Linked DNA regions of Homo sapiens: region 2 is linked to region 1. Evidence: promoter capture Hi-C in 16 types of primary human blood cells and fetal thymus (Javierre and others, 2016). All regions are on one chromosome and are shown on one strand. The core of a region is centred on a gene start or on the middle of the fragment in contact, and the rest is flanking DNA. Distances in the headings are between cores, read along the strand shown.

Region 1 (3,443 bases), core at 374-2,873:
GACTCAGCCCGCCTGCACCCAGGTGAAATAAACAGTCTTGTTGCTCACGCAAAGCTTGTTTGGTGGTCTCTTCACACGGATGCGCGTGACACAAAGTGCTGGGGTTACAGGCCTGAGCCACCACACCTGGCCACCCCCAATCTTTAAGAATATTCTGGCCGGGCGCGGTGGCTCATGCCTGTAATCCCAGCACTTTGGGAGGCTAAGGCGGGCGGATCAAGAGGTCAGGAGATCGAGACCATCCTGGCTAACATGGTGAAACCCCGTCTCTACTAAAATACAAAAAATTAGCCGGGCATGGTGGCGGGCGCCTGTAGTCCCAGCTACTTGGGAGGCTGAGGCAGCAGAATGGCGTGAACCTGGGAGGCGGAGCTTGCAGTGAGCCGAGATCGTGCCACTGCACTCCAGCCTGGGCGACAGAGCGTGACTCCGTCCCCCCCCCAAAAAAGAAAGAATATTCTGTATGTAGTTTTTTTGTTTTGTTTCTGACAGACGCAAACGCACTCTTCTAGTAATGACTAAAGACTTCTTCGTTTAATTCACCAATGAACTAATCTGACAATTTATGTAACAAATAAATTCCTATAAACATAAGCTCCCTTGCCCCTCTCCAGTGGCACAATCTCTGATTTGCCATCCTGGTTGCAACCTTCATTACTAAGTAAACGCTTACGTAAACCTTAATAATGAGATTCGGGCAATATGATTAAATATTGGTTTATTTGAGTGCAAAGTTTGAGGATGGCGACCCGGTAGGACACAGACTCCAAAAGATGGGGGTCAGTGCTTCGAAAGGGAGAAGTTTGAGGGTCGTTTACACAGGCAGGGTCTGGGAAGCTTAACAGGATGTCAACATTTTCCATAGAAGGTTAACGCATAGCAATTTGATTGGTTCAAGGCAGTGTTTCTTTTTGGGAAGGGTCTATTTAACATTCCACATTAAGGATGTAATAGTCAAGCGGTCATTTATCTTATTCAATGCGTATTTTATCTCAGATGCCATCTGGTCTGAGCTGGGAACAAGAAAATAAGGGAGTTAATCTATAACAAAAGGTCGGCAATTAAGAGGTCGTGCTTCGTGATCTGGTCTCCAAAGTCAACTTTCCTCAGGGACTTTCAGAATCCCCAAATAGACTATCCACTTTCTTTCACACTTATTTGCCTCTAACTTGTTGATTTCTTTTTTTTTTTTCTGTTTTTTAAGGGTTAACAATCTCTTGGGTGCACTCTGACTTCCATGCGCTTTATAGAAAAAATTGGTCCTGAGGCCAGCAGCAACAGTCGGTCTCAGGAACTTGTTAGAAATGCACATTTTTCAGCCCCACCCCAAACCTACTGAATCAGCAGTTTTGCTGGTGGTTCTCAATCTCTCTTTAACGTGCCCTCTGGGTGCTGCGGATGCACGCTGAAGGTAGAAGATCGCTGCAGGAGATTTCCGCGTCGGGCAGATGAAAGCGCTCTGCAAGCCCGGGTGTTATCTGCGGGCCGGGTCCGCGGCTTCTCTGGTGGCACTAGGACCGCGGCGGCGCGGCCCTCGCAGCCACCGCCTCGGGCGTGAGGCGGAGCGTAGCTGTTCCTGGATCCTGGGCCTGGCTCCTCGACCCGCCCCTGGAGGCGGACCCCACTTGACTTAAACTCTGGGGCCCGGGAGGCCGCCGGTTTTCTCCCCGCTTGCCGGGGTGGTCCTCTTCCCTTTGTCGGTAAGTGTGAGACGAGCACCCCGAGGTCCCTCCGCCTTCCGGGGTCCGGGCGGGGCGGGGGCCGGGAGCCGGGAGCCAGAGGCACTCGCGGTCCGGGCCTGCGCGCGGCGCAGAGCGCTTTTGTTCTGCGGCAAAGACGCAGTCGCGGGCGGCCCCGGAACCCGGGCCTCGGGCCCCGCCGGCTCGCGCGTCCCGCCGTCCGCCCACCGGAGCTGGGCCGGGCCGCCGCGCTTGCTTCTGCCCGCCGCACCGGGGCCGGCCCTGGGCCTCCGCGGATGCCGAGCCTTGCACCGGAGGGCGGGCCTCGCTGGCTGTTTTCCCTCATTGCCTGGCTCTGCGCGGTAGAGGTCGCGAGTGGCGAAGGCTAGGACGCATTTTGTCGAACTGCGAGGCGCGGCTGGTGAGGCGGGTGGGTATGAGAGCTGCTTATGTTTTTAAGGCTTTCCTGTCGCTGGAGTGAAAAAGAAAAATCTTTTTTTTTTTTTGCTATTTCCCGAGGGTTCTCCTCCTCCCCGGCCCTCTTAAGCCGAAGCCTCCTGGAACAGAATTGCTGTACTGGCATCTATCTCCAAGTGGTCCGCGAACGCTTCTGCGCCGGCGATGGTTTCTGTTCCTCAGCAATAGTTCCTTGAGGCATTTTTAAATGCACAAACGCATACCCATCTTAGGTGTTCTCGAGGGACACGGATTCCCTAAGCAAACGTCCTTAGGGTCCTGAGTTCAGCAGCAAACTTTCGGGGAATCATTTCCGTGAAAACAATTTATTTGTAGTACATCGAGTGCATACTGTCTTAACATAAGGATGTGTATGAGCTTGAGGCGCATTTTCATTTAGTGGCGGGCGGGTGCATTTCAGTAGGCGGGCCGCAGAGCTTGTTTGGGGATTGCATTTTTCTGCTAAATGTGTTAGCTTTAATCATGTTTCAGTCACTGTTAATGTGCATGCATGTTAAGGTTTTAGGTTTTTTCCCCTGTGCAGTCGGATTTTTTTCTGTTTAATATTAATCCAATAAAGACAAGTGCAGAGATAAAGTATTATTGTTTTGCAGTGATACTACAATAGCGGACCTAGAGGAGCGCACATAAATTCTAACTTAAGTGAATGGTATTTTCAGGCCAGACCTAGTTTCTATTTCTGTTACTTAGGACACTTAATAAGAATTCAGTAAACTTAGCATGCTTTCAGTGCAGCCATAAAAGAAAACAGTTTTGCACAGCAGTGTCATATCTAGTAAACACATTAGCATGTGCTCTTTTATTATAAAATGTTTCTTGCTGTCCCTAGGACCAAAGAAGTAAACACTGTGTGGAGAGGGACTGACGTGTTTGGAGGGAAATGGGAATGTACACGATAATTAAAGAGTAAAGTTGTGCTCAACGGTAAGTGTATCACCTCTAAGAAACCCGCCCTGATTTAACCAGGCGGTTATTCACACTCAACTATGGAGTAATTCACCTATTACCGAATAAAATTACTAGCTCAGTGAATCAACATCGGTTTTAAATTAAACTGTGGGTCACAATGGAATTGACAGCAAAGCTTGAGAAGAAATGTTGTTGGCATAGTACTGAAAAATCAGTTGTTAATCTTAGCAAAATAAGGAAAGAGGTCTTTGGTAAGGGAATTGTGGTGGAAGTTACCTGGGCAGAGGTCTGCTTCTGTCTGTGCTGTGTTTATTTGATTGTTTTTATTATATTTTATTACTGTTGGTGGCACATAGGGGAATGTGGCGCAGAGCACCA
Region 2 (3,443 bases), core at 315-2,814, 180 kb after region 1:
ATTGACTTTCAAATTCAGATTACTTTTACGCTAGCATACGGTGGGCACAAAGGGTTTTTTTGTTTATTTGTTTGTTTGAGACGGAGTCTCGCTCTGTCGCCAGGCTGGAGCGCAGTGGTGCAATCTCGGCTCACTGCAACCTCCTCTTCCTGGGTTCGAGCGATTCCTCGTGCCTTAGCCTCCCAAGTAGCTGGGACTACAGACAAGCGCCACCACGCCCAGCTGATTTTTGTATTTTTAGTAAAGACGGGGTTTCACCATGTTGGCCAGGATGCTCAAACCCCTGACCTCGCGATCCGCCCGCCTCGGCCTCCCAAAGCGCTGAGATTACAGGCGTGAGCCACCGCTCCTGGCCTGGGCACAGAGTTAAAAAAAAAATACTGGTAACAGAAAACTTGTTGGCGTGTTTCAGTTTTCAGAGTCTTCTATAAGGTCTTATACCAGCCGAGAAGCAGCAGAACCATCTGTCCGTGTACCGAGGACGGATCTCAGCAGCTCTCTGTTCAGTGGCTCCTGCCTTTGTAGTGGATTCCCTTGCTGTGCTGTAATTAAGTCAGCCGGCAGGAGTTCCTGTTTTGAGGGGGCCTCTCCCGGCTGGAGAAGTACCACTGCCTTTGTGTTACCTGCCATGTTATTGTGGAGTGGATAATTTTTTTTTCCTGCATGGGTCTTGGTTTAACAGCAGGATCCTCTGGGCTTCTTCCAAGAAGCACCACATTTCCCTGAAAATAAATGGCAGATGAATTATTTCTTGAGATTATGAAAATCTGTTAGATGAAAGCTTGCCTTTTTCTCATGTTCAAAACAATGCTAAATGCTTATAATTATACTCCCAATGAATTACTTCTTTCACTGGCTTCCTTTGCTCTGGCAAAGGTGGATTTTTTTTCCATGGCAGAGAAATTTTATAAAAAATGTAATATTTTAGAAAATGCCTAAATGTCAAGAATACAACATCTTGTTTGTTGTTGTTGTTGTTGTTTTGTTTGTTTTTTGATACGGAGTCTCGCTCTGTCGCCCAGGCTGGAGTGCAGTGGCGCAATCTCAGCTCAATGCAACCCCGCCTCCCGGGTTCAAGCAATTCGCTGCCTCAGCCTCCCGAGTAGCCTCCATTGAAGGAAGTGCCATAGTGTGGGAGGATCTTTTTATTTTCTACGCGCACCGTATTTGATTCTGTGTTTACAGGAACTGTGTCTGTAGACAAAAAGCAAAATGTTGGGGTTTAGTTTCTTCAGGTGAATAAAATGTTACTTGCATCTCCTCATTGTCACAGTGTTCGTATTACATACTTCGTGTGTGTAGTTTTGGCATTTAAGGAAACAGAGCTAAAAAAAAAACAAAGGACAATAACTGCATCAACAACATGTTATACACCAGAGGAAATGCGGCGACTTAGGTTCTGTGATGGGAAACCCGGATTTTTTTGTTGTACTTGAAATCTTCCGTAGAACGTACGTGTTTGCATGACCCAGAAAGGAAAACACATTGGAGGACTTTGTACTAGTTCCATTCTAATTCTGTAAAATTCTCACAAATTCAGGCATCTGTTAACCCTTCGAGGGCATATAAGTTCAGAGCCATGTTTTCTGTTTTGTGTCTTTCCCTTTGGCGGAGTGGTTACCTTTTCTGAGCCCTTGGCTTGCTTTCTGTGAACATAAGGCGCTCCATCTGCCGCTTTAAAGTGAAGATTTATAATTCAAACAAGACAGCGTTTCGATGTTGCACTCCTGTCTTATTAGATATCAACTTAAAGTTAAGAAAATGGAATTATTCAAGGCCTTGTTATCTAGTTTATAGCTTATTCAGAATTTATATTTCTGATTTTTTTTTGTCCTGATGACTGCCTGTGACTAATTTGTGTTTTTGTTATTAAGCTAAGATTGTATGAAAAATATGGCAAAAACAAAATTCTATATTTCTAATGCCCCATGAGAAATCTGATTTAGAGGCCCTTCCTTTGGACACACTTTTTGTTTTGTTTTGTTTTTGAGCGGAGTCTTGCTCTGTCGCCCAGGCTGGAGTGCAGTGGTGCAATCTCGGCTCACTGCACCCTCCACCTCCTGGGTTCAAGCGATTCTCCTGCCTCAGCCTCCCGAGTAGCTCGGAGTACAGGCGCCCGCCACTACGCCCAGCTAATTTTTCTATTTTTAGTAGAGGTGGGGTTTCACCATGTTGGCCAGGCTGGTCTCAAACCCCTAACCTTAAATGATCCATCCGCCTCAGCCTCCCAAAGTGCTGGGATTACAGGCGTGAGCCACCGCGCCTGGCCTGGACACCCATTTTGAATAGCACTTACCACAGATTCCCGAAGCCAGTGGTTTTCTAGCCTTTTTATTCGCCGTTCGTTGTAAGCTTCTTGAGTCTTGGTGATTCTTGTTTCATTTGTTTTTGTTTCTCCCCAGAGCCTAGCACATAGTAGGTGACGAACAAATGTTCATCGAATGTATGGGCTCAACCATAGTCTATTTTTTTCAAAAAGGTATAAATCTTATCAATGTTTTACATTTTGCTGAACAAAACAGGAGAGAGCGGATTCTTTTCAAATAGGAAAAATTAGGGAGGGAAAAGAGGGATTGACTGAAACTCTATTGAAGTATGTCAACATAAAAGTTTATTGACAGCCTGGCGTGATGGCTCAGGCCTGTAATCCCAGCACTTTAGGAGGCCAAGGTGGGCGGGTCACTAGAGGTCAGGAGTTCGAGACCAGCCTGGCCAACATGGTGAAACCCCGTCTCTATTAAAAATACAAAAATTAGCCAGGTGTGGTGGCAGGCGCCTGTACTCTGAGCTACTGGGGAGGCTGAGACAGGAGAATCGCTTGAACCTGGGAGGCAGAGGTTGCAGTGAGCTGAGATCGTGTCACCACACTTCCAGCCTGGGCAAAAGAGTGAGACTCTGTCTAAAAAAAAAAAAAAAAAAAAAAAAAACAAAAAACCCCACCTATCTATCCTATCTATCTATCTATCTATCTATCTATCTATCTATTGGTCTATCTATCTAGATAAAAATAGCAGTCAACTAATTTTTCAAATTAAAAATGCTTTATTGTTATTTATAGCATGATTGTTTTTCTATAAAAAAGGCATATTACAACAGCCTTCGCTTCACATCTGACTCTTGCAGCATTCTTATAAAGAGATCTCACACCATATTTGAGGGCTTCATTAGTTTTCTAAGCCTTAAAAAAATTTCATCATTAAGATTATTCTCTCATGAAGCACCCAAAATATAGACAGCTTTTCTTATTTTCTTTTCTTCAATTGTTGACAGTCTAATGCTGCCAGATCTTTATCTGTCAGGGACTTTTGATGTTGTTGGAGCCATCTCTTGTGGACTTTATGAAATCTTGCATGCAGCACAATTTGAAACTTCATTGTGCATTCAATTTGCATTGCCTTTGCTGTGTTCACAGTGGCACTCCATGAGGCTTAACTATGGAGATC

The links. Contacts are between HindIII fragments. The CHiCAGO score rates a contact against its expected background, and 5 or more counts as called.
Region 2: a fragment that was not itself captured here is called in contact with the fragment with the promoter of RESF1 in region 1 in 1 of 17 cell types (naive CD4 T cells); the score reaches 5.2 in naive CD4 T cells.

What each region holds. Positions count from the first base shown.
Region 1 is chr12:31,957,792-31,961,234 of GRCh38, forward strand. It overlaps RESF1 (retroelement silencing factor 1), which reads left to right and starts at 1,624. Exons shown (of 6, transcript NM_018169.4): 1 at 1,624-1,700; 2 at 2,986-3,080. It overlaps LOC105369725 (a long non-coding RNA gene), which reads right to left and starts at 1,513. Exons shown (of 2, transcript XR_931503.2): 1 at 1,337-1,513; 2 at 702-1,013. RefSeq lists an enhancer at 1-542 and a silencer at 1,595-1,934. The HindIII fragment of the contact is 2,403 bases long and covers 836-3,238 here.
Region 2 is chr12:32,139,505-32,142,947 of GRCh38, forward strand. All of the region lies in intron 1 of BICD1 (BICD cargo adaptor 1), which reads left to right. Among named protein-coding and RNA genes, the nearest start is that of BICD1-AS1, 34 kb to the left of the region's middle. RefSeq lists an enhancer at 442-491. The HindIII fragment of the contact is 1,571 bases long and covers 780-2,350 here.